7 separate regions of the Homo sapiens genome follow, and all the other regions are linked to region 5. Evidence: promoter capture Hi-C in 16 types of primary human blood cells and fetal thymus (Javierre and others, 2016). All regions are on one chromosome and are shown on one strand. The core of a region is centred on a gene start or on the middle of the fragment in contact, and the rest is flanking DNA. Distances in the headings are between cores, read along the strand shown.

Region 1 (3,622 bases), core at 107-2,606, 740 kb after region 5:
AGCCCTAGTACATATTTTCTTCTTTCCTTAGAATTAGTCAATGTTATGACTGAATTCCAATATATCCAAGGATACAAAAATTTCACTAAGGTTTTTTTTCATAATTCAACCCTAATGAAGGGAGCAGCCTTCTTTCTGTGCCCCTAAACTACAGCCTTCCTTGCTCTAAAATGAACTCCTGTTCTACCTGCTCCAAAAAGTTTTCACTCCCACTCTGCCAAACACCCCACATCCTGCCCACAGCTGTCTATGTGAATTTCTATTATCAACAAGCTCTTTCCCTATCTCTTGTCCCCTCAACATTTAGACTTGGAGCAACTTGAAGGCAAACGTATTTGACATTTACTATACCTCCTAAAACCCTCTAAGACTTTATATGTGAGGAACAACCCCCCAAGAAGCTTCTTTTATATGAAATTGCCAAATTTCTTTTTTCTTTATTTCAGATTTGTCTGGCTTCTAGAGTCAGCTTTATGTTCTTGACTTCTAGTCCAATTTTGTCTTAGCTTCATGAAGAATTTTATGTATGCATTTTCGTAGGCTCCAGTTTTTTAAATTAAAAATATTTCTGAACCAGTGAATGTGTTTCATTTCTCTCTGTGAGGATCCATTATAGATGGGCAAAGCTCTTAAAGGATGTAGTCTTTTTGTCTCTGAGAAACATCTGATAGTGGTTAAACCCTCAAGTTACTTAAGGAGTAAGAAACCACACTTGATACCTATTTGGCAGCCTGTCATAAAAGAAAAGTACGCATTTCCCCCTTGTAACCCCACTCTGGCCAATTTAGAAGCTGTAGACATATTTCCTAACTCAGGAAAATTAGTATGACGCTGCCTCCTTGAAATTACAGCATTTTATGTTTTCCAAAGTCAAATTTTTGGTTGTTTTCTCAGCAATTCTAAGTCAAGTAAAAACACCAAACCCCCTTTTACATGATTAATCACCATAACATTTCAACATATCTCATAGATAGGCTAAGGTTTCCTTTTGCCTATAGAACACCAGGGTAATTTCATATATTTCATATACATATTCTTTGGGTTTTAAGTAGAATCATTTTGAGCACCTTTTCCCTGAGCTCCTGGTAAATGACTTAAAATTTATAAAAAAACGTGTTGCCAATGTTTTGCTAAAGAGAAAGCAAGTGGGAAAAGAAGTAATGTTTTATTTGCATATCATTTTATATTTATGAAAACCTTTACACTTTACAATTCTAGGCATATTGTAAATGCTCAATCAATGCTTGTTAAATGAAGAATGAGTGGCACTCCTGACATTGCTATGAATATGGTAGGTGGATATAAGTAGTATGTCAACTTTAAAAAGGAAAAACTTGAAGATCAAATAGGCGAAATGACGCCTGCCTAATGTGTGAGGCTTCTAAGGGACAACCTGAGGTTTCCTGAGTCTGAACCATTTGTTTTTCCAGATATCGGATGTATATATATTCCATCGGATGTGTATATATTCCACACAAAATTGGAACATTTGTTCTCATGCTACTATCAACATTGTCCTATCTATCAATTTATTTTAGTTAATGACAACAGAGAACATGAGTTGAAAATAGCATTACAGTTTTTCATCATACTATTGTTAAACCCCCGCTATGATTTGGATGAAAAATCTATTTTCTAACTAAAACTTACAGGTAGATGGGAGGAATAAGTTCTAGTGCTGTAACACTAGGATGAATATGGTTAACAATAACTTAGTGTATATTTTCAAAAAGCTAAGAGGATTTTGAATGTTCACAACACAAAGTAATGATAAATGTTTGAGGTGATGGATATGCTGAATATCCTTTGATCATAACACATTGTTCATATTTATTGAAATATCACTGTATATTCCATAAATATTTACAATTGTGTGTCAAATGAAAATAAAAGGAAAATTAAAAAAAATAAAAATAAACACCGAAAAAAATCACTACTAAGATCTGAGTCTTTCGGAGAGCTGAATTCAAAGCTGAAAAAAGGAAGAAGAAGGAATACATAGTCCTAGGACATTTTCTATTGCAGCCTCTGGGAACGCCTTTAGACATCCTTCAGCAGGTTTCTTTGCTTTCACTCTCTAGGGGCTACTTCTTTCTCATGAAAACTGTGACGTTGCTTCTGAAAACTCAGTGCCTGTCTGTCCTTTTTGCGTGCATTTCCTAGAAGATCCCACTAAAGGGGCATTTTGTCCCACCGTCTGTGAGCTGGTGGTGCCGCTTTGGCTCTGTGGCCTGTAGCTTGCAAAAGGAGATGACCTGCCCTAAAATGTCACTCGCGCCCATCAAAGCCACAGTCACCGGCTGCCGTAGCTGCAAGCTTTTTTCTGAAATCCAGGTACGCTAATCTAAAGTCAGACATCACAGCTCTAGAGAAGCTGGCTAAGAAAGTGAAGAGGGGCTCACTTTCAGCCTCCGCGAGGACACACCTCCGCAGCCGCCGCAGCTCCCCTGGCCCCCGCAGGGAGATTCGCCCGGGCACCGTGGCGCGGGCCTGCGGAGCGGTTTCCGCGGAGAACCCGTGCCAGGGCGCATCTGTGGGTCGTGGAGTCGGGCGCTTCCTTCTATAATAAGCCTCCTCAGGAAGGTTAAAATGAAGCAATTGTCAAAACGCCAAGGGAAAGCAAAGCTTCAGAGTATCCTGCATAATAAGCATGTCCTCCTTACAAGAGGCAGCCAGAAGGTGTGGTCTGGCCACTTACCTAGCGCTCTCTCAGCACAGGTCCCAGGCAGTGCTCAAGTCCAAAGTCAGAAGCGCCCCTCACAGTCCCTAGGAGAAAGCCGCTGACGCCATCATCAGTAGGGGATTTGCATTTCTCCTCCCACTTGAGGCTTTCCTGTGCGTCAGTGTTCGAGTCTCTGGGACTTTACTTGGGTCAGTTCCCACCCACTCTATTCTAGAAATGCTAACACGCAGAAACTGCCAGGCTGGAGCCCCTTCACCGGGCGTCCTCTTCCCTCTTATCCCTCCCAGCGGCTCTCGCAACTGCAGGTGGCTCAGCAGTGCCAGGAAAAAGGGGAGGGGCGGGGCATACATTTTCTTCAGTGGTTTCCTTAGACAATCTGAGATCCTCTGCAGAGTTACTTACCTGGAGCCCAGTTCTTCAGCTTCCTCTCTCCCTAGTATAAGGCTCCACTCAGCCTGGTGAACCACCCCTGGGATGGAAGGGATGGGTAGCCAGGATCAAAACACCAAACTCATAGACCTTACTGGGCTCCAATTCCAGCGGGGTCCGCTCACTCCGACGAGGGTGACCTGACCCAGAGGGTTGGGCCAAGTCCTGGGTAGGCCACCAGTGCTTGCCCTTCCTGACCTAGCCTCCTCCTACTCTCCTTGAGTAGCCTTGCCCCTGGTTGCTACGGTGCGTTCTTCTCCCTTTGTGACATCAGCCTGTTCTAGAATCACAGAGTTGGAGGAAGTCTTGGTCCCATCTAATGCTAAATCCTCTTTCATATCTGAAGAGACCCAGTGAGGTGACCAAGAGGACTCAATAAGTTAGCCACGGAGCCCGATAATAGCCCAGGTGTTTCCCTTCCCACTTCAGTGGTCTTTTCATTTCATCTCCTTGTAGTTAGCTCTTAACCCCTTGATTCACAGTAGGGGTTCAATAAAATAAAGAGAAGTC
Region 2 (3,996 bases), core at 130-2,629, 710 kb before region 5:
AGTACAGCTTCTGGAACTGAGCAAAGAAGCTCACCAGCTTCAAAGGTTAGACTGGTATTTACTTTCCATTTATTTGTTTTCACGTCCACAAATTAAAACCTCAAAAATTTGTTAGTTGAATTTTTAAATATTAGTCAGAATGTCTAAAGAGGGTGACATTTTTACCTTTGGATGACAAACTGTATTTCTACAGCTATATATTTCAAATTTCTAGACTTCTGAATTAGGTTTTTCTTAAATCAGAGAAGGAACCCAATGATCTCCATTTGCTTTTAAAATATTTTAGAAAAAAATTAATAATAAAAAATTCCCCAAAATATTTTTTAAATTCTTAATATTTGCTTATAGCTCTAACTACTTTAATCATTATCCAGTAAGAAACTTTCCATGCATGGATCTTGTGAAAATTCTACTTAATTTTAACAGCATTCATGTGATTCTGTTAATACACTTCATGTATTTTTTTCCTTAAACCAAACTTTAGGTGCATTTTGATAAACTGATTCTGGCCTTCTTAATTTTAGAGTATTCCATTTGGTATGAAGTCCGCTGTTGAAAGAGGGTTGTCTGCAGTTTTCCACACATTTAGCCGTAAAACCTCAAGCTCAACAATCAATGTTTCAGATGAAGCAGGTTATACTATTTTTCATCATGCTGCCCTGCACAACAGAGTTTCTATTATATGTCAACTGTGCAATGCTAACTTCAAGGTCAACCAGAGGCGCTTTGTTACGTTCAGCCAAGGTACCATAAAGTTTTTTAACCTAAAATGTTGTTATTTTATTTACCCTTACTCAGCATTAGGAATGCACGTTGATTTTAGAGCAGGTTAAAATTTGGTATTAACTAGAGCAAAGTTGAGGTTTTTGTTTCATTTATCTAAGAAAGGCTTCTTTTAGTTTTCTAAGTATCACTTATAGCTAGCTTATATGGTTTTATATTTGCTCATTGTGTCTCCTTCATTTGAGTATAAGCTCTATAAGAGGGCAAAGATTTAGCCTACTTTATTTGCCGTGGTATACTAATGTCCAGATGAAAGTGTGGCTTAATGGTTGCTCAGAAAATATTTGTTGAGTTAATGCATGGATGGGTGAAGGCAGGATATCATTTGATAAGCACTGGCAAAATTAATATACACTGATATACTATAGAAATTCAGAGAACAGCAATAGATATGACTGTCAGGTCCCAGTAGAACAATCATTCTTTATTCCAGGATCCTCAAACAGGGAATAGTTTCTTTATATTACATATATTTAAATTACATTTAATAACAAAAAATTTCTTTATCATAATAATGTTTAGCATTAATAGCCCCTTTAAGGTTAACCTCATTTAAACTTTAAAAGCTATTTTTGTGATTATTAAATATGCATGGATATTTTATAATCATTGAAATAAATTTAGCTAGAATAAAAACAGAGTTGAAAATGAAATTGGTGGCCCTCCATAACTGGAAAGGAAAATATAGATAAATTGTCAGGGGCAGGTGTAGTGGCTCACTACTGTCTTGCCAACACTTTGGGAGGCTGAGGCTGGAGGATCACTTTAGACTAGGAGTTCAAGATGAGCCCGGGCAGCATAACGAGACCCCCTGCCCATAAAATTAAAAAAAAAAAAAACTTAGCCAGGCTTGGTGGTACACGCCTGTAGTCCTAGCTACTCTGAGAGGCTGAAGCAGGAAGATTGCTTGAGCCCAGGAGTTTGAGGTTACACATATATATGTACATATATATGTAAATTGTCAGGAATGGCCAATGCAACAATATTGGCAATAAGAAGTGGTGATTTTATATTTAATGAAGTCAGCTATCTTAATAAGCTATGTTAAATTTTTACAGACGCCAAAACAAAATGTTTTGCTTTAACCGTATTGAATATCCATAAATTCTGTACTCTATCAGTATGATTAAAATGTTTTGATATTCAGATTCTTCTGTTACTGAAAATATTCAATACATAATACATAATGAACCTAATTAAAATAAGACACAATTCAATCACATTTAAATGCAATAGGTAACACTATTTAAAGATGTATTACTTTAAGCCTTTTTTAGTGTGGAAAAAGTCTTTGATAAATTAAAAGTTTCTCATGCGCCCTCTGACTGCTTGAGTTTCCATTTGCTGAGAATTAGGTAGATTTTGAAGTGTGGAAAACATAGTACTCTACTTCCAATATTATTGCTTAACCAACACAAAATTGTCCCACCTGTGAGTTTTAAGCAGCCATTTGGGGGGCAGAGTTTCCAGGTCTGCTTTTAATGCGTTGTCAGGTTGCATATGACATGCCTGGATGACTTGACCAAAAGTTATTCTCAACACTGTTCGATGTAATCTTGCCAGATACATCTACATAGTCATTTTGTTCTTATTCATATGAGTCTTCTTGAACAACTTAGGAAACTGCTGTATATTAATGATCATACTTCTATGTGCATTCCCTTTTAAAACAGAGTCATCCAAAGTAGAGGTAAAAAAGGAAAGAAATGGTAAGACATAAATAAAGTATTTGGTGCATTTAAAAAGGCTATTGCATATATTAGAACTTTTCTTATAGTATATAATCTCTAAAATACTGTTGCATCAGAATGTTGCATAATGATGTTTTGTATTCATTTTGAAGCATAAATTACTTTCTACTCATAGTTATTTATTGGTATTCCTCTTCAGTTTGGGGAGTTTTCTCTTTTTTTCCTGTGGAATTTGCTGTCACCTTTATTTTTTATAAATTCAGGCCCACAAGTGGTTTCTACAACTTAAAAAAAAAAAAGTTATTATAATATAAATTAGATAGGCTGCCATCTAGTGGCAGTAACAATCTGTGAGGTCTGAGGAATGAGTCGTTTTTGACTGAGGTAGTAGACTTAACCTCAATGTTGGATATGGAGAAAAACAAAATGTTAAGAGGTTATACTTTCTTTGTCTATATTTAAGAGGCTATACCTTCATACTCTGTATAAGAGAATTCAGAAAGGCTTTTGTTTTAAAGAAATTACGTACAACGAACTGAATTGTCAAGGGGGAGGGGATAGTTACTCAAATTGGCCATCTTCCGTTAGAGGAGGAGCACAGCAAACCTGAGATGACCTCAGAGAGGGAGCCCGACCTCATTCTTCCTCCTCCAATCTCCTGCCAGAGCTATCCATTGGCAGATACTGACAAGGAGCCAGAGGACACAGGTTGCTTTTTCTGCAGGTGCAGGAGAGCCAGGGTGGTAAAGGAGGTGAGTGGAACTGGAGCGGGAAAAAAGGAAGCTTACCTGTCCCATCCGCCCTGTAGAAATTTCCAGTTGAGTAACAATAGTGTGCCTCCTACATTATTGCTCTCTCTTTTTCTTTTCTAAGTATCACTTATGGCTACCTTATATAAATTTATTTAGTTAGTTAGTCTCCCTCACTTGAATATAAAGCTCCATAAAGGACAAGGATTTGGTCTGTTTTGTTAGCCACAGTTTCCTAACACCCAGAAAAACGCTTGGCCTTCATAGGTGCTCAGGAAATTTTTCTTGAGGGGTGTACATTTTATTGGAAACCTTAAATACTCTTCAAACAGAACATGTCTTCAATTAAGGCTCTAAGGTATTCTACACAGAAAACCAAAGTTTTTCAGATTAGAGGCAAGGAGAGGGACAGTATAGAGGACAAGTGCTTAGTTTGCCACAAGGACCCCTCATGATTAATGCTCCTCAGCCAGCTTATCAGCTTCCTTCTCCTTTTTAGGGTTTTTTCTCCTATCTTAGCATATTCATTATATTTCTTTTTACATTTTTATTAGTGATTGCCCTAGAGTTTACCACATTCATTTACAATTATTCCAAGTCTACTTTCAGATAACACTAAGCCACTTCACCTGTAGTGTAAGTACCTTATAATAACAACATATTCCTAAGTCTTCCCACCTATCATTCATTTACTCATTTCACTTGTGCATAAGCATATATATGTCATTCATTTCATAAATGTCATTCATTTCACTTATGCATAAGCACATATA
Region 3 (3,978 bases), core at 1,124-3,623, 830 kb before region 5:
AAATATCCTCCTGGAACAACCACGGTGCCACTGGTTTTCTGGCAAATCTGACCTCCTAACCTATTAACCAAAGGTCACATAAACCATAATCAGAACTTGGAAGAGAGGCATCTTCTTCCTCTAAGAGCAAGGCCAGACCACAGGCTGAGAATTTCAGATACTATTCCCATCACATGTTATTAATACTTAATATTTACTGAATTAAACTGGGGGAACAAACTATTGCTTTTTATTTATTAAGGGTTGTTTCACTAGGTTTCTACTTAGCATCATCAGCTGTTGGAATTAAAACAAACTCACACCAATTCCACTTTGTTTACATGTATTTGCAGAGTCACCCCTGTGTAAGCCTCTGGTAAGATAGGAGCTTGCTTTTCTAAAATGTCATCTATAAACTGCTATTTCTTAGAGAACCAATAATGTAGCTTAACAATTTCTCAAAGGTATTGGGTATAGATTTCCTCTTCCAGTGGTTTCCATCCATGTCTTAAGGATGATCCAATATAAGTTTCCAATTTAAAAGGAAAATAACATTCAAAAAATTTACTCTCAAAATTCTTTCCATTCTTTTTAAATACATATGAGCCATGGACAGAATATAGCCAGATTTATTGCTTTTAAACAATAATTGTTTAATGTTAAAGATTCTAATCATCACTGAACATATATCTAGCACCCTTCTAGTTTATTATTTTTCGGAGAGAGTTTTAGGAGCCCAGATCTACAGAAACACTAGGTCTTTTCCAGGACAACCTAGAAAGTCAGAGGGAAAACTGTAAATCCATTGCTGATATTCATTGGATGATTAATTTTAAGATAGCCTCCACTGCCCCAAACTTTATCTAACTATAGATAACATTTTTAAAGACCAGAATTTTTGTCACTCAGATATTTGTTCTGGGGGTCATTTATGTTTCAATTAATCTTAGAATGTTATTATTAGCTTAAGTCAGTCACTCTACCATTCTATTGTATTCTCATGGTGCTGCACGCTGGAACTAAATTTTAACAAAAAAAGAAAACAAAATATTTTAAAATGTGAAGAAGAGAAGGTATATGAGACATCCATCCATCTTTTGTAGCAGATATGTCTATTTACCAAAGCTACTAATGCAACATAAAATTTAAAAACAAGGCAAATATTCCTTTCCTTGATAATCTTGTCTGGATAGTTGTCTATCTACATAAACTACGATGATCTGATAATTAAGTTGCATTAACTAACACTCATGGGGAAAGATCTTCGATGTAAATAACGTTTTCATTAAAGCATGTGTACTTGGATGATTTATTTCTTTAACTGCTTGACAAAACTGGAAGTTGGCTTAATACAACTGGCTAGAACGAAAGGAAATAAAAAATTGCGCAACTGTGTTGTAAGACTATGCATTCTCACTTACCCAAGTAGAGAGAGAATGACCAAGGTAGAGAAGGAATTTTGCAGAGGTCAGGTAGTCGGCCAAGGATCCTGCAAAGACACAGGCGGGGTGACAAAAAGCGATGGTAGTCACTTAATGAGCTGAGGGCAGAATGCTTATCCATTTGATCTCATTAGAACATGATTATTAAAAACTACTTTGCAGGACAAACCACGTACATTTTATCAAGTTACCTATGAACCGATGTATTTCGTTCACTTAATACCATTCACTAAATTCAGTTATTGACCTAGTCAATAACTGCCCAACTTCACATTTCACATACAGTGAAGAAACTCTTGTTTCAGCATTCTTTTTTGGGTTGGTTGGTTTGTTTGTTTTGTTTCTTTTTTACACAAGGCAATCCAAACTGCCCAATCTACTCCATCCGTGCCTGTGTGCAAACCCCTTTTCCCACACCCTGAATTTCCTTTCTTCCTTAACGTCCACCAAATATGAGTCAAAGGATCTTTTTACAAAGCTATGGTTCACAGCAGAGCCACATTCCTCCAGAACTCGTGTAGAGTTGCTTGTCTCCAAAGCCCCACCTGGGTTTCCACCATATGCTTTCGGTCAACGACACTCACCACAGCATCCTCTCTGGCGGTTGTGATCTCCCGCCCTGGTCATGACACTAGGCGACCCCGCTGGCTCTTCTGCGGCTGCTATCGCTGCTGCTGCTCTCGCTGAGGTGCTTGTTAACAGGAGTGCAAGGAACTGGAGATAGCACCTCTAAAAACACAACAGCCTTGGGCAAAAAGACTACAACGACGACTTTGGCAAAGAACAAAAGAAAAGGGGCCCAGGGATTTTCTTTTTTCCTTCTTTCCAAACTTAGCTAACACTGTAGCTGAAGTTGGAAAGGCAAAGCCTTATGGAAGCGGTTTGGGAGGCTCAGCAGGTCGTCCGAGCCTAGCGGACGCCCTGAGCCAGCTCTCTCCGCCGCCGCCGCCGCCGCCGTGGGCCGGGCCCAGCTCTTATACCGAGTCGGGGGCGGAGCTCCCTGCGACCTCCGACTGGGGCCGCCCCGTCCCCTTCAGGGCCGCCCGGGCGTCCCCGCGGCGCGAGACGAGCTCCCGTCAACCTTGCGCGCCGGGCCGTCCCCGCGCCCTTGCCCGGAGGAGTCGCCCACCCCGGGCGCAAGCGTCCAACCGGCCGCAGACACCCTGCGCGGCTTGCGGGGACCTTCGCCTCGACGCGTTCCACTCCCCGGGTTTTCCTGCTCTCCGGGAAGCCGCGAGGGCAACCTCGGGGGGCGGCCGTGGGGCTGGGAAAAGGAGGAAGGCGCGTGGAGCCGGCGGGGCGGCGTAGGGAGATTCTGCGCGAAACTAAGCGTCAGGTGCTGGAAGAAAGCGCTGCGCACCGGCTACCCCGCAGTTCAGGGAAAGGGCGGCCGCCGGACGGTCGCAGTGCAAAGCTCCAGCGCGAGCTTGGTGGGTGGGGATTCCTTTTTTAACGAAAATAATTTTTAATACAGGTATCTAAATAAATATAATTCATGCCACAGAGGCCGCTTTCCTGGCCGTCCCATTCCGGCCCGCCTGCAGCAGAGAATGCCTTTCCTTCCCCGGACTGCATAGCAGGGCTTCCCTCAAAGAACCAGAATCAAAGGGCAGGAAGGGGGCGCAAAGATCAGAGTCCATCCCTCTTGAGAGGAGCAAACGGAGGCTTGCAAAGGTGAAGTCCCGCAGCGAGTTACAGACCTACCCGTATCCCCAAACTGGGGCCTCCAAATCCGTCCTGGAGACAGAATGAGGATGCTGCAGCCCCAGCAAACCCTTCACCATCATTCCTTCTCCCTCTGTACCCTCTCACCCCGCCCCCACGCGCGCGTCCCTTCCCCACCTAACCTCCAAATGCCCCAGTGACAGGCTTACCAGGAATACCGGTTATCCCAGTTGTGTCCCTGGATCTGTCCCTGTCCAGATAAAGCCATTCGGTGGCCTCCTGGAGGGTGAGGTGAATGACTAAAGAACACCAGACTCTAGCCTTGGTTGACTTCGTTTTAATCCTGCTGTGCCAAACCAACCCCTGGGGCATACCAGCCCCTTTTGCCAGTAGGTTACCTTACCCTTCTTAATCTCACGAAAACCCTGGTAGTGGATCCTACATATTGAAACTCCAACCAGATGCCACACCTTGAGCACAGGCCAGACTGACACCCAGTAGTGAAGGGAGCCACGCATGAGTATGTGCCCTGTATCTGCACTCTCAATCAGGAGCCCCAAAGGTCTACGGGGTGGGTGCAGCTGGATTCGGTTGGGATGTGGTCTGGTGAGTAGAGATAGGGGTTACAGTTTAACTACTGCTTTTCACTGCTTTTTGCCTTTTCAAGCCCTCTTTTTTCCTTTCTTTCACACGACATTCAAGTTCTTTCTCCCAATTTAGAGAGGTTTTGGTTTGCTAACCGTGGAGAATAGGGTCATTTATACATGCATCCTTGAGAATAAACCAAAGTATACTCAGATGAGTGAACTAAAGTGAAGGAGTGAACTGGTAAATAAACCCCTCCACTTTATGGCGATCCCTTATTAGAGATGAATTTTTTGACAGGTCCTCA
Region 4 (3,683 bases), core at 1,167-3,666, 620 kb after region 5:
CTATTTTGTCTAAATCCAATTGTTTAAGAGCACTTCCTGGTAGGAAATTACTTCTTTAAAGATAAAACTGTAATAGTCATGCTCCAGTTTAAATTATTTCATCCAATTCTGCTGCCAGTTGATACACGTGTCAGGCAAATTTTAGAAAACCGGGTTTTGTGGAGAGAAGTAGAGACTGGGAGGATGCACCTCCAGTTAGATGCACCCTTCCATCAAACAGATGCCTCCACCCTAAAAGCATTTAGGCGCTCACAAAGGAGTAAAGGAACTGGCCTTGGGGCAGGTGGAGAGTTTGTTCCATAGGAATAATCTAGGAGCCAGTTGGGCACATGTGGGTGGGATGAGATTGCTCAGATGGAATCTCTCTAAGGGAAAGGGCAGGTTATAGTAAAAGCTTTTATTCCTTTGAACTCTTTTCCATCAAACATTAGCCTCTGCCTATTTGGTTTGCCTGGAGGACAGGAGGTGGGCAGAAGGAATGAAATAAGAGCCCTTCAGAGGGGGCTGCCATCTCTGACTCTGCAGTCAGGGCTCATCTTGAAACCTGGTTCTGGATTTTTCTGCAGCTGGCATGGCAGATGCCTCAGTAGCATTACTTGCTCAACAGATTCAGCAGCATCCCCAGGGCTCAGCAGGCATAGAGAGCTCTCCAGGTCTTGAGCACTGGAGAGCTCCATGCTATTACTAAGGACAGCAGCTGGGCAATGGCACCACTAAACATCCAGTAGGGGTGAGGCAAGGACCAAAATAGACTTGCAATTCACATACATTACTATCCAGGAAACCAACTACCCTTCCTCTTTACTAGAGAAAATTGAAGGAATGGAACATCTCATCCTAAACCTCTTTCCCCAGTCTCAGGTTGGATTCTTAGGACCAGAGAGACTATTAGAGCTGGGAAAGATCATAGAACCCACATAGTCTTACCTCTTCTAGAGATGAAGAATGAGCAACCTATGAATAAAATCAGTTACCCAAGGCCAGAGTTGTTATTCTCCTAGTCCTCATTTCATCCTCCTAGTCCTCATGAGTTTTTTTAAATTATTATTTTTTTAACCCATGTGTCTGCTTACAATACCTGTAAAATCAGTGCAGTTTGCCCAAGATACCACCAGGAATGACTCTGGATCCCTCCTCCTTTGGAACCAGCAGCTGTTGAACCCCATAGTTGGAATAACGTTGACATGGCACTAAGGAGGCTTCATAATTCAACCCTGGATGCCCCGTGAATTTCTGCTAATGTCCCATCACGACTTTCCTCTTGGATCTACTGTGATCACCATGCCTGCTAGCGTTCATCATACTGATTGGCTTATTTGGCTTTTCCCTCACGCCTTCTTGCTGAGGTGTAGGTGTGACTTTATTATTCTTGACCTACCCTGAAACATTAACACTTACATCTTCTAGCTAAAATCGTAGTAACACCAGAGAGACAAAATGAGAAATAAACCAAACACAGGCAAGCGAGTCTTCTGTTAATATTGTTATTAACACTGGTTTCTTAAAGTTGTCTTATCTTGCAAGTTTATCTGAAGCTTTGGTTTCAAGCATTTCAGTCACAACACTCCCAATTGAGGAGTGCCACGGGAGTGTGAAGAGAGCTTCAGATGTCAAACATTTCCTAGAACCTGGTATTTACAAAGCTGAAGAAATAAAATGTGGTTATTGGGCAAAGAACAGTCTTTAAACTTTTTCATTTGCTTCCTTTCTTGGTGCGTCAGAGTTTATCCTGTCATTCAGCAGAATAAGGAGACTTCATCTAAAATTAAAAATGAAAATAATCTTTGAGGAAACTACTGGTTTTCAAATCAATCACTATTTCTTGGGCAAATAAACGTCCTCTTTTCTACGAATTACTCCATAATTTTTCTATTACCTAGTTAAAATACTTAAACTAAGTATTTGCAAAAGTAATTGGGGTTGATCAGTCTAAAATAAAAGGTACCTTTCAAGGAGACAGAAAAGTGTTTTAAGAAAAAGGCCTGTTTATCCACCAAAAACATAATGAGGAAATGGGTGCAAAATGTAGCAAATGTTCAGTTAGACATAAATAACTTGACGATTTAAGGGAACTAACATTAGAATAAGCTATCAAAGTAAAGTGAATTTTTCATCTATGGAAATCTTCAAGAGAAGGACTAAAAGCCAGCCAGATAAAAATTTTTTGAGGCTTAGGGTCTCTCCAAGTTTCTATTATATTATTCTGATGTATGTTCACTTTCATGTAAATTGGGGGTTTGAACCCATTGACAGTATTGGTGGATAAGAGCAAATAGCATGCATCCCAAATAACATTATTGCATTAAAGATTATGACTCATTTCTCAAAAAGGAGAGCATTATTATGCCATTGACTGTTATTCATATATTATTGATGAGGCTCCGGGTTCTAGAAATGCAAGTCACAATCAAGAAAAATTGCAATTTGTGATGTTTGCACTGTTAAGATAGCAAACTGGGTTTACTAGATAGTAAGTAACTAGTAAACTAGATAGTATACTAGGTTTATAAATATTGACCAATAAATGGTGTTTGCTAAAGTAGAGAGTGGTGGGGAGTGAGGGGGCCCATGGTGCAAGCAGCGATAGTGTGCTTGAGTAGGGTATAGGAATATTTTGCCCTCTGGTGGTTTCTGGTGGAAACAACGTAAAGCAGTTTAAGTAACTGAAGGTGTCTGCTTTCAATACGCATAATATCAGCAACACGCAGGACCATCCAGACACCTTTTGTGTTATGCTCATGAATTTGTTCCAATAAATGTGTTTTCTCCCTACCCAGGCAGTATTTCAGCCCCTTTGATTCACACACCACCTTTGCATCGTTGGAAACACCTTTGACCAGCAATGGAAAATAAAGGGAACATACTGCAGTTTCAATTGTTGTGGGACTCAGGTTTTCTCTCAACACCGCATACACACTTGGAGACATGGGAAGAAGGTCTGATGGAGAATGTGGCTCTGTTGAATCACTTCGGCTTAAAGAGATAACAAGGTCAATATGGACAAGGATTAAAAAATAATAATAGTTCACGGTGACTTACTATGTCAGGAACTCATTTCTAGGGCTTCATCTATTTGTGACATTGAGTTATCTAATTCATCATTTCATATCAGAACACTCAACTTACTGTGGCATATATGGCATATAAAAGGGGAATTTTATAATTTTAGGCACAATAGATTGTGGTAAGTGTGCCCTGAAGGCTAGCCTTATGTATTAAAGGAAATGGGACATTGCACATTACAATGCTTTGTTCTCAGTTATGTGTACTCTGCTCTACCTTTAAATCTCCTATAGGAAAGCTTTTTATAAAAATATTTCACATGTGACTAACATTACTCACATTGTTGAGATGGGGATAAAAACAGAAGGAACATAACCTTTGTCACCCCTTTCTGTTGGTCTTGAAACTGGAAAACAAAAAGGCACAATGTTGGGGAAAAAAATGTCAATATTATCAATAAAACTGGGGAAAAAAGAGTCTAGAAAAATATTAACAATGATAAGAGGAAGAGAGATAACGCAGTTGTTCGGTGATACACAGAAATGTTTTGTTAAATAGGGGACACAATCTTTTAGATAAGCATAAAATGTGCAAGAAGAGAAAAACAAATCTCTTGGCAGGCCTAATCTGACTTTACATATTAATGCCTCTAAACTGTGTGGGAAAAATTGAGAATCAAC
Region 5 (3,804 bases), core at 1,045-3,544:
CCTTGTAGTCACCTTGGTTTTAGTTCACTAAAACCCATTTTGGACTCTTGACCTCCAGAATCGTAAGATAATAAATGTGTGTTTTAATCCACAAAGTTTACGATAACTTGTTACAGCAGCAATAGGTAACTAATACACTGGGCATGGGTATAAGGGTGAAAGGAGCATTGAGAAGAAGGGCCTTGTACAACTGGGTGGATGGCTGTTTGGGACCCCAGAGTCTGGGAACCCAGAAGCAAGAGTGAATGAGGGGCCGGGTGCAGTGGCTCACACCTGTAATCCCAGTACTTTGGGAGGCTGAAGTGGGGGGATCATTTGAGGTCAGGAGTTTGAGACCAGCTTGGCCAACACGGTGAGACCCCATCTCTACTAAAAATACAAAAATTAGCCAGACATGGTGGCACATGCCTGTAATCCCAGCTATTCAGGAGGCTGAGGTAGGAGAATCACTTGAACCCGGGAGGCAGAGGTTGCAGTGAGCTGAGATCACGCCACTGCAATCCGGCCTGGGCGACAGAGTGAGACTCCATCTTAAAAAAAAAAAACGAGTAGGGGAAGAACAGAAGGTAAAGAAACATTGACGTGGCACTTAGTGAGGTTGGGGTGCCTGTGACACATCCCACTGGACAACTGGCCATAAGGATCTGGCCCTCAGGAGAAAAGCTGACCCCGAGAGAGGGCTTTTGGAGCACCCTCAAATATTCTGTGATTGAAGCCAAGGAGTGAGAGAATTCGCAGAAACAAACAGAATCAGAAGAAAGGAAAGCCTAGAACAAAACCCAAGGAAAACTAAAACTCAAGTGGAGCAAAGGGGAGTGGCCAGAGAGGAAGAGGAAAACCCAAGACTTGTGGGTCACAGAAGGCAGAGGAGGGGAGAGTTTCAAGGAGGAAAATCCAACACTTACGGAGCACCAAAAGAAGAGAAGGGAAGAGTTTCAAGGAGGGGACCAGTGTCTCGTGTTCCTGACAGGAGAAAGAAATGCCTGGAGAAAGAAATGATTGAATATCTACGTCAATATTGAAAGTGGATTTAGCATGAGGCTACTATAGTTTAAGCTTCAGAGACCCTTCATAAGCTCAGGAAGGGGCCCTAGAAACTTCGTATTTGTAATTGTTTTATTCTTCCTAAAGAGGGACTCAAAATTCAGAAACTTCAGGGCCTATCAAATTCTTACCAGTATGATTTCACGGTTAAGAGCTTAAAGCCTGGAGACAAAAGAAGCCTGCTTTCCCTTTCGCTGTTTAGTAACTTTGGATGGGTCACATTAACTTTCAGCCTCGGCTTTCCTCAGTTGTAAAATGGGAATAACGTTTCCTACACCTATAGGGTTATAAGGCTCAAAGAGTACCTACACAGTGCCCCGTACATAATCGATGTTTATAAGCGTTAGCTACCATTGTCACTCTTGTCGTTGTTGCCGTTAGCTACCATTGTCACTCTTGTCGTTGTTGCCAGAACAAGACAATAAACTCCTTAAGAACAGGATGTGGCATCCCCCAAAGCCCATCACAGGCACACAGACATACTTGCCAAGTGAATACTCCACTCTCCCCCAACTCTCTGCGTGTTTAACTAGAAATACAACTTTAATTATATTCTTAGTGCGACACACACGGTTGGCTTTTCAGCAAGATGCCAGTAGCAGCTTCCTGAAAAAGGGTGCCTTCGTCTCAGTGTTCCCCCTTCTTGGTGAGCCCCGAAACTCACAGATCGTTTGTCTCCCGCACCCCGCCGGCTCCTCCCTCCCGGGTCAACCTGGGACAGACGCGGAGATAACGCACTGACAGCATTAGCATTGTGTGTGCCACTTAAAAGGCGCTCAAGGAATAAGGGATGTTAGTACATTTTCCCCCACATTTCCTGGCCCGCACTCATTGCCTGGGGGCTCAGCGGAAGTCGCTTGGGGGTGCGGGGGGGTGGAGGGTGCGGTAGGGATGGAGCCTCGCCCAGTGCTTTCGCCTCCTCAGCGTGCTCCCCGGGCCCGGCTGGGTTCAGGTGTCCCTCCGGGCCGCCGGGGCGGGCTGGAGGCCGGGAGCGGGCAGTCGACGCATCCGCCGCCGCCGCAGGAGGCGGAGCGCTGCACCTGGCGGCCGGTCCTCAGCGCCCGGCCCTGAAACGGGTCCAGCCGGTAGTGACCGGCGGCGGCGACTGTGAGGCCGGGGCCGGGGAGGAGGAGGAGCCGCAGCGGGAGAGAAGGTCGCGCCGGCGGGAGCGCTGGGCCCTCCGCCTCCGTCCTCCGTGGCCCCACCCGGTCCGCATCCCTCGCCTCGCCTCGCCGCGCCCCGCCCAGCCCGTCGCAGCCCCGGAGGAGCGCGCGAGCAGCCCGGGATGGTGCGCGCTGCCCCGACAGCCGCCGCCCCGGCGCCCCGAGCCGCCGCCCCGTGCTCCGGGGACAGGGCTCCCCGCGCCCCGCGCAGCTGAGCGCTGCCGCCGCCGCAGCAGGTGAGTCGGGCCCGGCTTGCGGAGAAGGGGCTCGCAGACCCGCCCTGGCCTCCCCCGCCCCGCACGGGCCCAGCCGGAGGGCGGGTAGGCACCTCAGCCGCGCACACCTGCTGCCGGGAAAGGGGCTTCGGGGCCGGGGCTCGGAGCCCAGCGTGCGCCGCTGTCTCCGCTCGGGCCTCGCTCGCCCGCCGCTCCCTCCCTCCCTCCCTCCCCCGGCTTCCGTGTCGGGTGTCATCTTTGTGGGGTGCTGGGGGAGGCTGCCGCCTGCGCCCCCAGCGCGCCCCGTGCTGGCAGCACTTCCGCAAACGTAACTGGAGTCGGGAAAACAAAGGCGCTGCCCAGGGAGCCCTCGCCGGGCGCCCACAGCTGCTGCCGCGGGTGGGGACGGAGGGTGAGCGCCGATGCCCGGGTCCTCCTCCGCCCGGGCCGACCCGCGCCCTCGCCATAAACATCCCTGGGAAAAAGGAGGAGGTGAGAACCTCCACACAGCCCCAGTGACAAGGACGCGGCCACTTGTGTGGCAGGAGGAGGAAATTGACAACGTCTGCCCTCCCAGGTTAATAAATACGGAAAAAAAAATACCTCTGCTCTGCCAGCCACCATCCTAGCAGACATCCCCCACCTCGTGCTTTACTTCCACTTGGTCTAACATGTCTCTGGAGCCCTTTTGAGATACTACTGGGGGTTGCTAGTCTTTCTGGGTCATATTTATTGCCCATAGAGCAATTTTCCTGCAAATTTAGGTAAGATGGTGGAAAAATACAAACGCAACTTTCCCCCTCGTTAATCCCATCCCCACATGGACAGACAGGTGGGTTAATTACCTTTATGCATTCGCAACCACGGACGTTTCTTTTCATCCCAAAAAGATTGAATAAGCACCTCACAGAACTACTGGAACATATAATACCTTGCTTATTAGTGTGCAAAAGACTTAAAGAGTTGGGGTTCTAATCCCAACTGGTATTTAAATAGATGTGTGTGCTTGGGCATGTCACATCTTCCTGAGCCCCAGTTTTCTCACATGGAAAAGAGGATGGTTGGATATTATAGTGGCCAAAATTTCCCCTAATCCTTCTAGAAGTCCATGATTTTCTAGAAATCTAACCTCTTAAGTATAGATGAATGTGAAGGGTGGGTGGACATACAGTTGACTAAAATATGTAATAAAAGGAGATGTGTACTTGGTAGGTCCTTTCCCCAAGATGTGGGCACTAGCCAGCTAAAAGTGTATGCATCTGTTTTAGCCTTGTTAAGTAAAAGGATAGGATCCTCCTCTTTGGGAAGCTTGGCTTTTGACACGTCAAGCTGCTAGCAGAGGTGCAGGATATGGTCAGCTGTTTAGTGATAGTCAGATGGCT
Region 6 (3,470 bases), core at 423-2,922, 970 kb before region 5:
CCATACAGTAACATACAACTAAAGTCACACTAATTTGAGTGAAAATATTTATTTTGTTTCTTGGCTCAGGCCCTAAGGAAAAGCCTGTATCAGGTTACAAAGTACCCAACAAAGTCTTTAAAAGATTTATTGTGCATACATCAAGAGACTAAACAAAAAGAGGTTAAGGCTGCAGAATCAAAAGTGATATTTTACACTCCATCCACTGTGACAAAGGGTATCACAGTCATGAAAGAGAAAGCTGGTTACAGCTTGAGATAAACCAAAATTATTAAATATCTCCCTTTCTAGTTCTGGCTCCCCAAATAATAAAGTTTTGAGCACTTTAATAAGCTAGACTCCTCAGTAAAAAGTAAATTTATCCCTGATTTTTACAGTGGTGCTGTCCCAGGATATGTCTTGACCTTTGTGAATATTGTATTTCTCCACCATAAATAAACTTATAGGTATAATCATGTGTGGCTTAATGATGGGGATATGTTCTAAGAAATGCATTTTAGGTGATTTCATCATTGTGTGAATATCACAGAGTGTACCTACACAAACCTAGATGGTACAGCCTACTACACACCTAGGCTGTACGTTATAGCTGATTGCTCCTAGGCTACAAATCTGAACAACATGTTACTGTACTCAATATTGCAGGCAATTGTAACAGAATAGTATTTGTGTATTTAAACACATAAAAGGTACAGTAAAAACACAGTATTATAATCTTACGGAATCACCATGTTATATGCATTGATTGAAAGATCCTTATGTGACATGTGACTATATTTGAGACCTTGGTAATTTTGTGGTAAATCCACAAATCAAGAAGCGAAATCAAAATAGGCAACATAATATACAGGGTCCAAGAATATGATACGTGTAAGTTTACAAAGGAAAACTGGAGATAAACTGGCAAAAATAAACATGTTGAGATTTTAGGGGTTCCTAACCCACAGATTCTATTCACTAATGGGAAAAGGTAAAACTCAGGAAACCAGAGACCAGCGCCCTGAAACCTGGCGGGACTGGCCGAATGTCAGATTAGCCCGAGCAGCTACACTGAACGCTGCGGAAGATGCACCAGAATCCCGGAGTAGGAGCCAGATTTCCAAAGGAAGAAAGCTAGGCCCTAGGACTGTGGAGATTCTGTAGTAACCTAAGCGATGTTCACAAGAACAGAAGAACGGCTAATGAGAGGAACAAAAAGCTGTACAAGGAAGAGAAAGCTACCTTTCCACCCAATAACTCAACGCTGCGACCGAGAAAACCAGGGACGCGAGAGGCTCGCGTCATCCTGCAGCGCCGACACCACAGACACTAGAAAGCGACGCCTCCGGTGGGACGACTGGAGGTCACGTGGTACACTATACGCCACCTTTCCCTTCTGGCGGAAAAAGCCATAGAGTCAGGTTGACAAGGCCTGAGAGAAATATGTCTGTATTAAATAATTGTGTATAGGTATATAATAAAAACTGATTGTCTCTAAATCTCTGTTTTGCTTTCACCTTTTCTTACAAGTGTCTTAGTTTGACATTGCCCACACAAAAGGTGCCTGCACGGAAGCGGAGTCCTACCACCGAGTCTCAGGCCTAGAAGGGCCCGGGGGTGGGTTCTGTGGGCTGGGAACAGCCTTATTACCCGGCTCAACGAAGGAAGTTCAGGGCGGGACCAGAGATTGGCCATTCCGCTACTGCGCAAAGATGGTGGAGGAGGAGAACATCCGCGTGGTTCGTTGTGGCGGCAGCGAGTTGAACTTTAGGAGAGCTGTGTTCTCTGCAGATTCTAAGTATGAGGGGCACCGCGCTTTGTCGGCTGAGGGGCGGGGCGTGAGTTTCTCGAGGGTCGGGGAGAAGGAATTGTCAGTCGCGTTCGGACTCGCCCGCCTGGCGGATATCGGCTTTGGGTAGAGCACGCGCCTGTGGGGGATCCCCAGGGTACCTGGGAGGTCCCGTTACCACTGCAGATTGGGTTGCGTCCCCCGATTCCTGGACAGTTTACCTGCAGGTAGATAAAGGCCCTGGAGCCGGTCTCCGTGTCGAGGATCTGGAAGGTGTTCGGGCGGCTGGAAAATGGTCCAGGGGTGGATGTGTATGCCACTACCTTTGCAGTACCTACTCTTTCGTACAGAATCATGTTTTGGAGTGACTAAAACCTAAAACTATTCCGCTTTTTCTACCCACTCCTCACTCCTGAAGCATAGTGCATGAAGCATAGTGCAGTCTTTTCGGAACTTTACATGAAAACAGATGTTAGATTCTTTATGAGATAAAAATACGCTAAGACTTGGTCTCTTTTCTCAGTGTAGCTGGAAACCAAACCACTCCCTGGCTTCAAAATCCACTTCTTACATTATGAAACCTTTGTAAGTTTCTTAATCTTTGCCTCAGTTGCCATCATCTGTAAAGGGGGACAATATTTAGTTCATCTCACGTGGTTATTGGGAGGATTAAATGCCTCAATATGTTAAAACTACAGACAACAATGCCCGGCACATAATGGCTCAATGTATGTAGCTGTAATCATTATTACTGTATTGTCAGGTTTTCAAATAACTTTAGGTAGGGTGGCACTTAATAAAATCAAAAAACCCTTTCTGCCTTAGAAGAGTAGAGATAGTATTTTATGAAAGTTTGTAGCCTCCACAATATTCTTTTTTTTTTTTTTTTTTTTTTTTTTGATGCAGAATCTCACTCTGTCACCCAGGCTGGAGTGCAGTGGCTCAATCTAGGCTCATTGCAACCTCCGCCTCCCTGGTTCAAGCAATTCTGGTGCCTCGGCCTCCTGAGTAGCAAGTATTATAAGCGCGGGCCACCACGCCCGCTAATTTTTGTATTTTTAGTAGAGAGAGGGTTTCGCCATGTTGGCCAGGCTGCCCTGGAACTCCTGGCCTCAAGTGATCTGCCCACCTGAACCTCCCAAAGTGCAGCGATTACAGTGAGCAACTGTGCCCGGCCCACCCCCACAATATTCTGCATATGAGTGTACGACAGGTAGTTGTTGAAGGTAATGCAAGCATGACTGAAAGAGCTTTTATAAATTGCCTTAGAAGCCAAAAAAAAATGAGTCCTGTGGCTTTGTTGACATTGATCTTATGAATCAAAGGAAGAAACAGGCTTTAAGAGGCTGTCACACTGTGACGCTTCGGACTCATATCCATGTAACCAGTACTGTTCTTATACCTTATTCATTATAATGAGGTCCATTGTGTGTTTGATTTGCTAAGCCCAACAATTCATTTTTTAAGTACTTGTCAACTATATATTATGTATAACATGCTGCAGTGACAAAAACTAAGATAATTTTAATATTGATCCTGCCTTCGAGGAGCTTACAGTCTAGTGAGGAAAAGGAATACTCAGTAACAGATTTTTCTTACTGTGGTCCTGTAGGAAGGAGCTCATAAGAAGAGATTACTTCCCAAACTAAGAAGGACGGAGAAGATTGCTGAGCAAATGACATTTGTGCTAGGCCTAGATGAT
Region 7 (3,840 bases), core at 641-3,140, 540 kb after region 5:
TGTTGAATGTTTTAGGGTCATCCACTATATAAATACAGAGTAATGTGAGTATATAATTCTAATAATTGCTACTTACTCATAAGTACAGAATTATTAGGGCATTTACAGAAGTCACACAACTCAACCTTTAAACAAGCTCAAACTGAGTAGGATAATGATAGGATTAAAGACTTAGGAATGCCATGTTTTAGATGTGTAAAACTGATACACTCCCCACCTGCTTCTAGCTGTTTTGGAAAAAAGTGAGATTTGCTATGCCAAGCATGCCAGTGTTAAGTGAACTCATGTGAACTGTAACATTTTTTGTCCCACTGTTGTCATGACTTTGTACAAATAAACTAAGATAAGATTGTCTGGTTCGGGCAGATTCTGATAAAGAGACTTGATAAGAAAAATGCAGTAGTGCTGGAAAATCTACAAGATGAAGGGGAAACTGTTAACAGTTAATTTATAAATTTTAATGGCTCTCTGCCCAGGTGCAGTGTCTCTTTGCCATGGGGAGGTATACATTAAACATCAGAGCCCTTAATTTAATAGCTATTATTGCGGCTGTGTATAGTCTGTTTCTTTATAGTAAGGAATTATTTATCAAAACATAGCTTCCATGCCTCTGGCATTTACTGTTAACCCATTATTTTCTGGACTTTGGCCTCCTTGACAGGTATTTTAAAATCAATGTAACTCAAGTATCCAGTGGGGAAATAGGGGAATGAGCTTTGATCAATGGTTAGCACACCTACATCCTTTGCAAGTATTGGTGTGGAGGTGGATGACTGATCTTCTAGAGTGCCCCTCTCCTTCAGTTTGTTTGCTATGATAGGCATTCCAGAGGGTGTGTCAGCTTAGTTGGAAATACTCGTGGCGCTCTTTAACAGACCAGGAAGCAGACTGTCCCTAAATGAAATACTCCATCTGTTGTCTCAAAAGTGTTAAACTAGTTTCATTTTCTTTTGTGGCATTCTACCCACAGCTCATTTCATAATTTATGTAAACTTAAAAGTATAGGGGGCTGTTGATGCTAGAAAGAAGAGGAATTTGTGGTTTTGCTTTTAAATAGTGCCTGTGCATGGGCTGCCTCCTAGTGCTTTTCTGTTTTGGAGAGAATTACACTCACTTTGTGTTCAAGCACCTATCTTCTGGTTTGGACTAAATCCAGCTCCATAGCTAGCCTTTTGTTTTCATGGGAAGAATACCAAACTTCCATGTTAGTCTTTAATAATTTTGTTAAGGCGAGCTAGTGTTTTTCCCTTCTGATTAGTTACAAAGCCTTTGTACATTAAAGTTTCCTGATTTTTTTTTCTCATGCTTTTGAATAACAATATACTCTGAATAAACCAAGTATATTCTAAAATCTTCTATTTTGGGCCTTATTAATAAGAAATGGACTTTTAGAACGTTTGAAATGTTGAATAATGAAGTGACTAAGTGCTACACACATACTATAATAAAATCTCTTCAAACGAGCATGGTCTAAATTCAAAATTTTAAAGGGGAATGTGTAGTTCTTATATCCAGTCACTGAAACAGATGAGGCTTTATTGCTTAGAAGTACCAACATAGTTTTAAAAATAATAACTGGGTAATTAATATATTAATGGTATATACAGGGGAATTTGGATTTTTCTTAGTGGTGGGGGAAGTAAGACACACAAATGCTCCATGTGGTCATGTGTTATAGTGCCATAGTGCAGCAAAGGTAGACGGAGATTACTTTTGATTTAAGAGATTGGAGCAGAGTTCACAGGAATGGGTAAGAATAACATATCAGTGAGAAATGGGTGGGGAAAAATGATTTCAGGAGAATAGTATGCACTGTGGGAGGAAGCAGGAGGTAGATCCAGGGTTGTGGTGGGAGTGGAGGTATCTAATTGACTCTGTCCCTAGCACATGCTGTCACAGGGCACTGTGTGGGCAGCTGGCAATAAGCTACATAGATAATGAATGCTGGGCTGGGATGGCCTGGGGAAGACTGACAGCAAGGAAGGGACTTTCGGGCTAGTCTTTGAGGGAAGGGAAGGATTTGATTAGGAATCTGGGTGTTCTTAAGAGCATAGACACCAAGACAAAAACAAGGGCAGTAAGACCAATTTTGCTCTATTGAGGTTGAGAAGAAAAATTAAGTTAGCTGGACTGAAGAACCTTGAATACAAGGCTGAAGAACTTAAATGTTATCAGGAATGATTTTGGGTTTCTTGATACTCCGCTGCTTAGAAACCTGTAGTGATTAGAGCAATGTTTTGAGAATATGATTAGAAGTATGTGGAGAGGTTTTGGAGGGTGGAAGAAGGACCAGAAGCAGAGGCATCAGTTAATGATTGAATAAATCTTGTAATGATATTCAAAGATGTAAAAGTTAAGGTAGATGGGCTGGGCACAGGGGCTCACACCTGTAATCCCTACACTTTGGGAGGCTGAGGCAGGCAGATCGCTTGAGGTCGGGAGTTTGGGACCAGCCTGGCCAACCTAGTGAAACCCCGTCTCTACCAAAAACTACAAAAATTAGATTAGTGGTGGCACATGCCTGTAATCCCAGCTACTCCAGAGGCTGAGGTGGGAGAATCACTTGAACCCGAGAGGCGAAGGTTGTATGAGCCGAGATCTTGCCACTGCACTCCAGCCTGGGTGACAGAGCGAGACCTTGTCTCAAAAAAAATAAAATGCAGGGTTGGGGGCCGATAGAGGAATTAATTTTGCAATTTAATACCCAAAATTGAATATTTGATGCCTTGAGGGAGAATATTCACTTAGTCAATAGATATTTAATGAGCACCTATTATGTGTGATAGACACTGAGTTTACGGTGGGGAACAGAAAGACAAGTGGTCTCTGCCCACATGGAGCCTATATTTAATGAGAGAGACAAAAAACAAGTATATATAAAAATATATATACTTTATATATAGTTATATATAACAAATATAGTTAAAAAGGATATAGTTAACAATACAATATATATATATATATGAAGGGGAAAAGCAAGGTAAGGGATAAGGAGTGATGAAAAGAGGGGAGTGTTTTAGAGTCTTGAGAGAACATTTGAATGGAGACCTACCCAAAGGGAGGGGGAGAGGGAGCCTCCTGACAGCCTGGGGAAAGAGCATCTCTAGCAGCCAGTTGTAGGCCTTGAGTGCCTGAGACCAGCCAGATGTTCTGAATGGAGTAGAGCTGGAAAGGGAAGAGTGGTAGGAATGATATGTGCAGTGTAACCAGGAATAGAGCCTTTAGGGTCCTGAAAGCCATGGTAAAGAGTTTGATTTTCCTTTAGATATGATGGAAAGGCACGGGAGTTCCTTGATGTTTTTAAAAGATCCCTATGGCAGCAGAGGTGATAAGGTGGTGGTTCAGATGAGGCCTAAGGCAATAGTGATAGAGGTGGTGAGAAGTGATAGGATTCCAAACATATTTTGCAGGAAAGAGGATTTATTGATGAGCTAGATGTGGGCTGTGAGAGAAAGAATAGAATCAAGGACTACCCCCCATGGTCTGTATGGTGAATTTGTCTGAATTAGAAAAAGCTAATTCTGTCTCTGGCCAGAAGCAGAAGCACTTCTCAGCACCACTGGGTAAAGAAGCTCCCTTCCTCCCAGCACATGTACCTGGGTGCTAGGACACCTTGGTGGGAAGAGCGTGGGCTGGTAACCCGTGTTGGCCCTGTGGCCAGGCATCCTTGTGAAGGACTCAACCTGCATAAGTGAATGCAGCAGCACTGGATGACTCCTGAGTTTGTGGCCTGAGCAAGTGGGTGAATTGTAGTGTCATCCCCAAACTGGGGAGACTAGAAGAGGAGCTGACTGTGAGTGGCAGAAGACAGGGCAAAGCAAATTCCATTTTGGGTATAAG

What was found. Contacts are between HindIII fragments. The CHiCAGO score rates a contact against its expected background, and 5 or more counts as called.
Region 1: a contact is called between a fragment that was not itself captured here and the fragment with the promoter of MFSD6 in region 5, in 4 of 17 cell types (total CD8 T cells, non-activated CD4 T cells, naive CD8 T cells and 1 more). The highest score is 5.5, in total CD8 T cells.
Region 2: a contact is called between a fragment that was not itself captured here and the fragment with the promoter of MFSD6 in region 5, in 3 of 17 cell types (total B cells, neutrophils and naive B cells). The highest score is 8.6, in total B cells.
Region 3: a contact is called between the fragment with the promoter of SLC40A1 here and the fragment with the promoter of MFSD6 in region 5, in 2 of 17 cell types (neutrophils and monocytes). The highest score is 7.1, in neutrophils.
Region 4: a fragment that was not itself captured here is called in contact with the fragment with the promoter of MFSD6 in region 5 in 1 of 17 cell types (fetal thymus); the score reaches 9.5 in fetal thymus.
Region 6: a contact is called between the fragment with the promoter of WDR75 here and the fragment with the promoter of MFSD6 in region 5, in 10 of 17 cell types (total B cells, naive B cells, non-activated CD4 T cells and 7 more). The highest score is 15.3, in total B cells.
Region 7: a fragment that was not itself captured here is called in contact with the fragment with the promoter of MFSD6 in region 5 in 1 of 17 cell types (naive CD4 T cells); the score reaches 5.2 in naive CD4 T cells.

The regions. Positions count from the first base shown.
Region 1 is chr2:191,148,249-191,151,870 of GRCh38, forward strand. It overlaps STAT4 (signal transducer and activator of transcription 4), which reads right to left and starts at 2,746. Exons shown (of 24, transcript NM_003151.4): 1 at 2,699-2,746. RefSeq lists a silencer at 2,386-2,435 and enhancers at 2,906-2,955, 3,086-3,165. The HindIII fragment of the contact is 1,915 bases long and covers 400-2,314 here.
Region 2 is chr2:189,695,626-189,699,621 of GRCh38, forward strand. It overlaps ANKAR (ankyrin and armadillo repeat containing), which reads left to right. Exons shown (of 23, transcript NM_001378068.1): 7 at 525-744. Among named protein-coding and RNA genes, the nearest start is that of ANKAR, 23 kb to the left of the region's middle. The HindIII fragment of the contact is 3,751 bases long and covers 1-3,255 here.
Region 3 is chr2:189,578,413-189,582,390 of GRCh38, forward strand. SLC40A1 (solute carrier family 40 member 1) reads right to left here and starts at 2,374. Exons shown (of 8, transcript NM_014585.6): 1 at 2,006-2,374; 2 at 1,401-1,468. The coding sequence starts at 2,048. RefSeq lists silencers at 2,328-2,387, 2,458-2,627. The HindIII fragment of the contact is 14,460 bases long and covers 1-3,978 here.
Region 4 is chr2:191,028,108-191,031,790 of GRCh38, forward strand. STAT4 (signal transducer and activator of transcription 4) reads right to left here. Exons shown (of 24, transcript NM_003151.4): 22 at 3,343-3,409; 23 at 2,865-2,973; 24 at 1,469-1,759. The coding sequence ends at 1,733. It overlaps STAT4-AS1 (STAT4 antisense RNA 1), which reads left to right. Exons shown (of 3, transcript NR_136318.1): 2 at 2,778-2,990. Among named protein-coding and RNA genes, the nearest start is that of STAT4-AS1, 8.4 kb to the left of the region's middle. The HindIII fragment of the contact is 1,766 bases long and covers 1,534-3,299 here.
Region 5 is chr2:190,406,061-190,409,864 of GRCh38, forward strand. MFSD6 (major facilitator superfamily domain containing 6) reads left to right here and starts at 2,295. Exons shown (of 8, transcript NM_017694.4): 1 at 2,295-2,443. RefSeq lists an enhancer at 1,566-1,615 and a silencer at 1,876-2,915. The HindIII fragment of the contact is 2,674 bases long and covers 1,055-3,728 here.
Region 6 is chr2:189,439,802-189,443,271 of GRCh38, forward strand. WDR75 (WD repeat domain 75) reads left to right here and starts at 1,673. Exons shown (of 21, transcript NM_032168.3): 1 at 1,673-1,777. The coding sequence starts at 1,692. It also overlaps a transcript of COL5A2 not described here. RefSeq lists enhancers at 539-1,237, 1,009-1,168, 1,189-1,408, 1,669-1,798, 1,819-2,048 and 1 more. The HindIII fragment of the contact is 5,353 bases long and covers 1-3,470 here.
Region 7 is chr2:190,947,047-190,950,886 of GRCh38, forward strand. The region is part of intron 14 of GLS (glutaminase); the gene reads left to right. Among named protein-coding and RNA genes, the nearest start is that of STAT1, 65 kb to the right of the region's middle. The HindIII fragment of the contact is 5,276 bases long and covers 1-3,840 here.